2 separate regions of the Homo sapiens genome follow, and region 1 is linked to region 2. The links are contacts of gene promoters, found by promoter capture Hi-C in human tissues and cell types (Jung and others, 2019). All regions are on one chromosome and are shown on one strand. Each heading gives the region's core, a stretch centred on a gene start or on the middle of the fragment in contact. The rest is flanking DNA. Distances are from core to core; before and after follow the strand shown. Region 1 overlaps PLCXD2 (phosphatidylinositol specific phospholipase C X domain containing 2). Region 2 holds the start of ZBED2 (zinc finger BED-type containing 2).

What was found. Contacts are between HindIII fragments. The study calls those that stand out against the background at their distance.
Region 1: a fragment that was not itself captured here is called in contact with the fragment with the promoter of ZBED2 in region 2 in 3 of the 25 tissues and cell types used here (IMR-90 fibroblasts, bladder and mesenchymal stem cells).

What each region holds. Positions count from the first base shown.
Region 1 is chr3:111,714,516-111,718,901 of GRCh38, forward strand. All of the region lies in intron 3 of PLCXD2 (phosphatidylinositol specific phospholipase C X domain containing 2), which reads left to right. Among named protein-coding and RNA genes, the nearest start is that of PLCXD2-AS1, 39 kb to the left of the region's middle. The HindIII fragment of the contact is 4,188 bases long and covers 1-3,359 here.
Region 2 is chr3:111,593,443-111,598,058 of GRCh38, forward strand. ZBED2 (zinc finger BED-type containing 2) reads right to left here and starts at 1,904. Exons shown (of 2, transcript NM_024508.5): 1 at 1,858-1,904; 2 at 1-1,624. The coding sequence starts at 759. The coding sequence ends at 103. The region is part of intron 5 of CD96 (CD96 molecule); the gene reads left to right. The HindIII fragment of the contact is 9,781 bases long and covers 202-4,616 here.

The sequences.
Region 1 (4,386 bases), core at 16-2,515, 120 kb after region 2:
AGAGCTGGCCCTTCAAGAATTTGTTCTCCTTTCCATGGTGACCATGAGTCACTGAAGAAGCAGCTTAGGATGCCACCCACCATGCCCATGCTGTAGCTTCAAATACTTCCTCAGGGCAGAATTGAGCCTGGTTGTACAATTAGATAGCAGAAGCTTCAGTAATTTTGTATCAGATGGTGTTCCTTATCCCGGACACCAATGAATGATAGATGTTCTCAAGAAAAAGGATGGTTTATTTGTATGCGTGTTTGTGTGTGTGCGCGCACATATATGTGAGTGTGTGTATGTATGTGTCTATGTACCTGTACATGTGTATGTGTATATGTATATGTATAAAAGGAATGTTATAAATACATTTGGATAACAGGGAATCCCTTGCAATCCAAGCTAAGGAAGCTAATACGTTTGGGTAGCAAAAGATATTTACAAGAATCAGTTTGGTCCCTGAGTTTCAGGTTGACGAGCAGAGTTCAGATAATGAAAGATTCATCCAAAAACATGTTTCTATTTATTTGGTCCTGAGTTTAGGTAACATGAGTTCAGATAACAGGAGTTCACCTAGCAGGAGTTTAGACAGCAGGACTAGATTTTTCTTTCTTGGTGAGAGCTCCTGATTATGTCAACCATGGACAAAACCAGAAAGTGTTTTCTGTGTGGCTCTACTAAGTCTTGACTGAATTCATTATGCTGAACTTGGAAAAGTGAATTTTATAAACCAGCACTATATCTCTTTGAAAGATCCCGAATTAGAAGCTTTATTGTTTTAATAATATGTTTGTGTATCCACACTGTTTTCCTCATGCCTCTGGTATATTTGTAGATCAACATTATTTATATATTCATTCAACAAACATTGAGCACCTAGGAAGAGCTAGGTACAAAGATTCAAGGTGAATATTATACTGTCTGCTGTCAAGGAACTCACAGTCTAGCAGCAGAAACTGGCATGAAAATTTCTATAAAGCAATGTGAAATACCACTGTGAAGAAGTCTGTGCAGACAGCCATACTAATAATGGAGAGGGAGTATTTAAAAAACTAAGGATAAGTTATATCTGTATACCATATTCTGAATATCAAATGGCTTTTTGCAGATGATTTCATTTGATTCTTAAATCAAGTCAGCCTCTAGGATGGCACATTGTCTACAGCATATTATCATCCCCTCTTTAGATGGGATTCAGGGAGCTTAAGTGACCCCAATCCATACAGCTAGTAAAAGTCAAGAATACCTCTCAGACTCTGGCCTTCTGATCGTTAGACCACTGCCCTTTTCAGCGTTGGACACTGACTTGGATACTGCATATTTTTGTGCTTATTCTTTTCTGTTCCACAGGCCTGCAGTTGTCTTATTAGTACCTGAATCTGGTAATATCTCACAGGTTATAACTAGTAACCCACAATGTCACAAAGCTTTTCATATCTGTACATTCCTAAAACTTTAATCTGGCTGCAAGTGAAACATTGGCTCTTTCCTTTATGATGAGAGATAATGATGTTGGCATGCGCCCAAAGCCAAGGGATCCTACTATGCCAGAGCCCTTGCACTACTGCTAGCAGCAAGCCAATGTCCCCAAGCTTGGAAAGATACTTTCTTTGGCATCTCGCCCCCCTGCCGGCCATAAGAATATTGCAAGTATGCATGCATTCCTAGTCCTGCACATCAACTGAAGGAGGAAAATATAGCTCTGGTTGAGTTTGTTCCAAAAGGCCAGTGCAGAGTGTGGCTGTCATTTCCTCTGGGCTGTTGAACAAACATAGGACCTTCCCCTGTGTGCCAACACCCAGAGGGTCTGTCCTAACAACTGGTCGCTGGCACTGGTGGTCAGCTCAAACCAAGAAAAAAAAGACAGGGTATATTTTCTTACAAATGTAGAGGTGGTTTCTCGGCAGGGATTTAACCCCCTAACTCTTCGATAAACTTTGGAGCTAAGATCTTGTTCATTTTGGTTCAACACCGTAGAAGGAAGCCACAAGAAATATAGCCATTTGACTCAATTTCCATGGTGGTTTCTCCCAGACTTATAGAAACCTGAAATTCAGGTTCATGGCACTCTCACTGAAATCATATGAAAATGCTTTGCCTAAGCTTGAGGACAGAGCATCCATGAACTCTATAAGGGAACATGGACTGAAATCAGAAGGCCTGAGAGTGCAGCCTGACATGCTCCCTGTTCCAGGGTGCATTGTGTTGTGCCCCGTCCCATCCCCGCCATCCCCAAGCTCACATATTGAAGTCCCAACTCTCAGTTACCTCAGAATGTGGGTACATTTGCAGATACGGCCTTTAAAGAGGTAATTAAGTCAAAACGAGGATATTAGGGTGGGCCCTAATCCAGTCTAGCTGGTATCCTTAAAAGAAAAGGAAATTTAGACACACAAAGAGACACCACAGATATGTGTTCACAGAGGAAAGGCCATGTGAGAATGCAATAAGAAGGCGGCTGTCTGCAAGCCAAGGACAGAGGCCTCAGGAGACATGAAATCTGATGACACTTTGATCTTGGATGTCCAACTTCTAAAACAAGAGAAAATACATTTCTGTCATTTAAGCCAACCAGTATGTGGTGTTTTGCTATGGTAGCCCTAGCAAATCAATGCAGTCCCTGAGCAACAGGGTGGCCGTGGACAAGTTTTCTGAGGTCTCTGAGCTGTGGTTTTCTCACCAGTTAAACAGGATTAATAAACCTCATCAGATTGTAGCCTTAACATGAAAATGCCAGCCACAGTGGCTGGCAGAAAATAGACATGCCATCCCTATTTGTAAAGACACCCAGAAACACTATGGACCACCCTTGTTCCCAGCTGGGCCCCAAGGTCAAAGGGAAGTTTTTAACCTCCTGCTCTGCCATCCATGGGAACTGTTGCCTCACGGGCCTGTCAGCACTGTCAGGTTCAGCCTTTTGCACAGATCCCTTGTCCTGGTAAATACCAAGAGCTGAGAAAATAAAGTAGCTCCTCTTCACTGTGGGTTCTGCATTTCCCCTTCTTCGTACTTAATCCTAATTATTTGATCCTTGCCTTGGAGAAGGTTGACACATGCTACCCGAAGCTGACACAGAACTCTTTGTCACTGGAAACCACAGGTACATACCTTTCACTGCATTTCTCTGCTCAGGCTCCAGGGATCCTCCAAGGTGAGGAGGCTCTGGCTGCAGTGACTGGAGTTACAAGCCTTTAAGGCTCATTTCCCTGTAATGACCAGCAGAGGGCGCCTGCACCTCATACTTCAACACTGACTCAGGCTTTTAAAATGAAGTCTTGAATCTATCAGGTTCAGTACTACTGTGTCCTTGGTGTGGTTCCTTGTGTATCCTTGGTCTATCTTTAAGGAAGTCTGTATTTGCAGCTTCTCACTTCCAAACCACAACATGTTGTCACGTAAGCAGGAGGATGTGACCTCTTTAAGGTGTAGTTTCTTACTCCCAGCCACCAAATATTTCTACCTCACACTCTTCCAGTTATGATTCCTTACCTTTTTTTTTTTACCACACTTATCATATCACAGAAACTCTTCTAAACACTTTACATGTATTATTTTGTTTAATTCCCCAAAAATCTGTATGAAGCATTATTATTATCACTCTTCAGGAGTCCCCGTTCAAAATGGAAGTACCCCTGGGAGGGTGATCTTTTAAGTCATAATCAGCTATTAATATAAAAATATAGGCCAGGCGCAGTGGCTCACGCCTGTAATCCCAGTACTTTGGGAGGCCGAGGTGGGCGGATCACCAGGTCAGGAGATCGAGACCATCCTGGCTAACACGGTGAAACCCCGTCTCTACTGAAAATACAAAGAAATTAGCTGGGCGTGGTGGCGGGCGCCTGTAGTCCCAGCTACTCGGGAGGCTGAGGCAGGAGAATGGCGTGAACCCGGGAGACGGAGCTTGCAGTGAGCCAAGATCGCGCCTCTGCACTCCAGCCTGGGGGACAGAGGAAGACTCCGTCTCAAAAAAAAAATAAGATGATGGATAGATGATAGATAGATAGATAGATAGATAGATAGATAGATAGATAGATTGATTGATTTATGATATGTGTTTTAGCCCGTGGCTGATTGTAGAGTCCACTGAGAGAGGGAGGAGACCCAGGACTGATTATAGTTATGGTAAGAGAAAAAGAAAGAGGAGAAGGACAAAATGCTACCAAGGCCTGAACAGGGTTGTCTGGAAAACTGAGAAGTCAAGATATGTGCTGAAAGAAGGGCAGGCAGCATCAAGGGAGAGTTTCTTCTGTCTTCTTTAAAGCATTCTCAGCCTACTGAGTATGTATTGAGCTGTTTTTACTATGATGTAAACTGTGAGTACACTTTATTGCTTTCTTCTCTATGCTGCCTGTGGTAGTTTACACTTACTATTAATGCAGAAATTATCACATTGAATTTTCA
Region 2 (4,616 bases), core at 654-3,153:
ATGTCACCAAACTACTTTGCTTTACATTTGAGTTGAAACTAAAATGGCTCTTTTCTACAAGTCTAGAGTCAATGTTTTCAGAATAGATTCTCCAAGCCCAATTTAAACAAAATGGAAGGGATGTACTGCTGCAGGCAGCTCTTTCTCCCGCTGGCATGCCTCCTTCTCAGCCCTCACCTTCCACTTCATCTCCAGGATGGCCCTTTCCACCTCCTCCAGGGCTCGCTCCCTTTTTTCCACAGCCCTCTCCCGCCATTCCACTGCCCTTTCCCTCCTAAGCACCTCCTTTTCCCTTTGGCTGGCCCACAAAGCCATGGTGCCCACCTGCTCCAGGAGCCTACCCCAGTTACCCTCAATGCCTGTGGGGAGCTGGGGCCCGTGGGGCCTTGGATCCTGGCGCTGCCCAGCCTGACCATGGCCACTCTTCTCCAGCTCCTCTCTGTGCATGCTTTTCAGATGCTTCCACAGTGCAGTGGTGCCCACGTTGACCCCAGGGCCACGGCTCACCTGCCTGCCACACAGGCGGCAGGTGGCATACTGGTTGGGATGGTGCCCAGCACGAGCAGGAGCTAGGTGGAAATATTCCCATGCCTCAGAGAACCGGGTGCCCTTGTTGTGGGGCATTGGAGTGGGCATAGCACTCACAAAAGGGCCAACCAGTTCTCCTGTCTCACTAATCTCTTCCTCCTCCTTCATCTCTAAGTCCCCTTTTGCCTTCATCATTGTTCCCTCCTCTTCCTCGTCTTCCCGCCTCATCATGTCACCTCTTCTACAGCGTTCTTTATGATGTGCTTAGATGTGAGCCAAAAGCTTATTTGAACCACAAGATTAAATATATATTTGGGAAGGGCCTGTGGTAACTCTTGGGGATTCACAATAATGGCCAAAGTCTGGCCACACCTGGGTGGTGTGAGGTTTCTTCCTTTCTGCTTCACTGGAGAGTCAGGGGTGAGTCAGATACAAGCAAAACAGCCCAAGAGTGCATTCCTTCCATGCCCCAGATACTTACTTATCCTCCCTTGACTAGGCCAGAAAGACAAAACATATCAGTTCCTGTAGCAAAGGGGTTCTCTGGTCCAACAATTACAAAGCTCTTTGATGAACTCAGTGTTTTCTGCATCAACCACCACGACAGGTATTTTTGAATATTGAAAATTTTAGGTTTTCTTGTTTCTCCTCCTGGTTGTTTCCACTGTTTCTGTGCTTCTTATTTCCTATAATTGCATTTTGGAGGCAGGAGAAACAGCCTCAGGGTTCAGGCTTTTCAGGACCAACAGAGCTAGGGCCTCACTGGGTCTTGCTCAAAGTAGGTAAAAGCAAACACAGGCAGATGCTGGTGCAGGAGACAATCTTGCTTCCTAAGAACTGTTGCAACAAGCAATCCAGAGTAGACAAAGCCTATGAGGATCTGGATAATAAAGTTCCCAATGCAAGGTCAGTTTGTCCTTAGAGGTGTCTCTCAGAGGCCAGGAGTCTAAGAAATCCAAAAAGCAAGCTCAGCTGTTTCAGCAGGAGGAGCTGGGATGCACAGAGGAGAAGGTGGAGCACATCTTCACAAACACAGCGTTGCCTGGCTGTCCTTAGCAAGCAGCTCACCATACTCCACCTTCTCCACCAGGATCACCTGCAAAGCCAACAGCCAATAAGACCTTCCTGAGGCAACTTACTCCAGATGTTTTGCTCTTTACCTCATTTTAAAGATAAATAAGTAAATGGAAAATCATATTACATTTAAAAACAGCCCGACTTCTCTCTCCTTTCTTGGGTCATTTCTTAAACTAATGAGAGCTTTATTTAATCAAGCTCTGCAACCGTGAACAGTTAGGAAATTCCCCCCAGCCACAAGTGGGTACTTACAAGCAGGCAAGGCTCTGGACTTCTCTCTGATCTTTCCTGCGCAGAGTGAAAGCACTCCTGCACACCTTGGATGTCTATTAGCTGACTCCTACCCCCAGAAGGAGGGCACCTCCAGTTCTGGTTTCCTCCCACTTCTAGGGAAGCATTGTTTCCAGGTAGGTGTGTCTGTGCCTGTTGGGTTTTTCTGCAACACTTAGACACAGATGCAAACCTTTTCTCCACCCCCTCCACCACCAAGAAAAGGATGTTCCTGGCATATGTCATGCAGCAAAACAGTAAGTCAAGCACCTACAAGTCTTAGTTCTCTTTTTTGATGACTAGATTACCTAACCTCTCAAGTAAAGCAAGCGATTTGAAGGAGGAAGAGTGGGAAAGGCTGAAATATTAAATGTATACACACATATATATTATATATATACATACATTATATATAATATGCATAATATATATATGTGTGTGTATACATATTTAGATTGAGAAGGAAAACCTACCAAGAGGAGATAGGAAGACTCTAAAGAAGGTATCAATAGAAGAAGAAAAAACTTTGTGTTATAAAAGGAAAGATAGAAATGGCATTGCAGGCCAGGAGCCATGGATCTTGCCTGTAGTCCCAGCACTTTGGGAGGCCGAGGCAGGTGGATCACTTGAGGTCAGGAGATCGTGGCCAGCTTGGCCAACATTGTGAAACCCTGTCTCTACTAAAAATGCAAAAATTAGCCAGGTGTGGTGGTGCACGCCTGTAATCCCAGCTACTTGGGAGGCTGAAGCAAGAGAATTGCTTGAACCCGGGAGGTGGAGGTTGCAGTAAGCCAAGATCATGCCACTGCACTCCAGCCTGGGCGACAGAGGGAGACTCTGTCTCAAAAAAATAAATAAATAAAATGAATAAATAAAAATAAAAAAAGAAAGAAAAGAAAAAGAAATGGCATAGCAGAAAATATGTAGAGGTTGACAGTTAAATTAAAATAGAAAAAAAAGATGGGGGAAAAAGATTCAAAATAGGAATGAGACTGGGAGGAGTTTTAGAACATGAACCACATTTCTAAACCAAATCTTGGAACGCAAAGTCTAGAGAGAGTCTAGAATGTTTGAAATTTGGATCATTTCAGAAAATCTGAACCTAGAGAATTCATGAAAGTCAAATCTTTTCAAAATTTTTAGACGTTAACCAGAGTTCTTCAGTGAGCCAGTTGCCTTCGTAAAATAATAACACCCCCACTTACTCCTGATATTACCATATCGTCATCTTTGGTGGGTTAACTAAAGAGAAAGGAAATGAATCATAAGAATGGTTAATGTCACTGGATTAATGCAAAACTTTGTATCTTTTTCTTTTTTTAAAAAAACATTTTACCTCCTTTACCTTTTTGTCTCTTCCTGGACCAACTGGAGATAAAAATCAATCTTTGGCATCTATTGAATTAAACTGAACACTCTCCTTTACTTAATAAGAATGTATTTTAGAGGATCTGGTTTTGCTTTTAATTTTTTAGTGGAGAGACTAGCATCCCTGGCCCATATATGTATCCCCATTATCTGGAAAGGCAAGTGTTGAACGGATGGGAATACTGGGAGCTACGGTGTTTGCCACCCAGCATCTTGGATATGCTAGACAACCCCCTCTGAAATTCTCTTGTTTCATTGGGATTTCTGTAGCAATGTACTGAGAAATAGTAAACTTCTGTAGGATTTCACCAGGAAAATGTTAGTTAGCATTCTCGAATTTGGTTTCTCAGCTCTATAGGCCCAGACTTCTTGGGAGTAACTAGTCTGAGGATTGGCACACAAATCATCACATACATTTAATTGTTCTTTACATGTTAACTAGTATATTCATTAATTGTGGAAAATATCTGAGAACTAAGAACTAGGGCTGGTCATATGTAAAATATATACATCTCTTGATGAGAAAACAAGTAATTATAAAAGGAATTATAATTTTGAAGAGTCTCAGATAAAACAATGGGAATCCAATAATTCTCACTGGATATTTTCACCAGACTGTAAAAGAAAGTATCATCCCCCAAAGAACAAACATAGCATTGAAAATAAAACATAACTAGCCCTGCATCTAAGTTCTCTGCTTTCATAATATAGTTACTTCTTTCATTTTTTTATTTCAATACAATTTTTATTAAAAAATATGTTGGACTGAGATTAAGGAGACATGGTTTCTAATTGTGCCATTAACTATTTTCCACTTCCTCGAACCACTGGGTGCCTTGATTTTTCCATTGGTCAAATGGCAAAAATAAGGCATGCTCTACCTATCCTTAAGATTAAGCCAATGAATTGTTTTTAAAAATTAGGAAAATGCTTCACAAGTAAAAAGTAGGATATTTATATAAATCGTTTTCTGTGATTGTTACAAATAGTGTCGTACATTATTTGGAGCACAGAAACAGCTTGTAGATCCCCTTGAGCTTTTAATCTAACAGACTATTCTTCTCTGGCCTCTGTTTGCTATAGCTTCTTCCTTCTATTCTTTGGTTTCCATTTAGTATTATTTTATTCTGCCTACACAGAGTTAAGATTTCTCCTTTACAGAACCCAGAATCCAGACTTGGAACATTAGTATAGTCCTAGATCCTTAAGTTGACCTAGGAGTATAGCCAGAAGTTTATAACATCTCTATAGGAGATAGCCCATTTATAGTGCACGTTCTAACACAACCTATATTAAAAGTAGACATTGCCTTCTATTTATTCAGTTAAAAATGGAGAAACTCTTTTTTGCCAACTTATATGAATGTTAGTAAG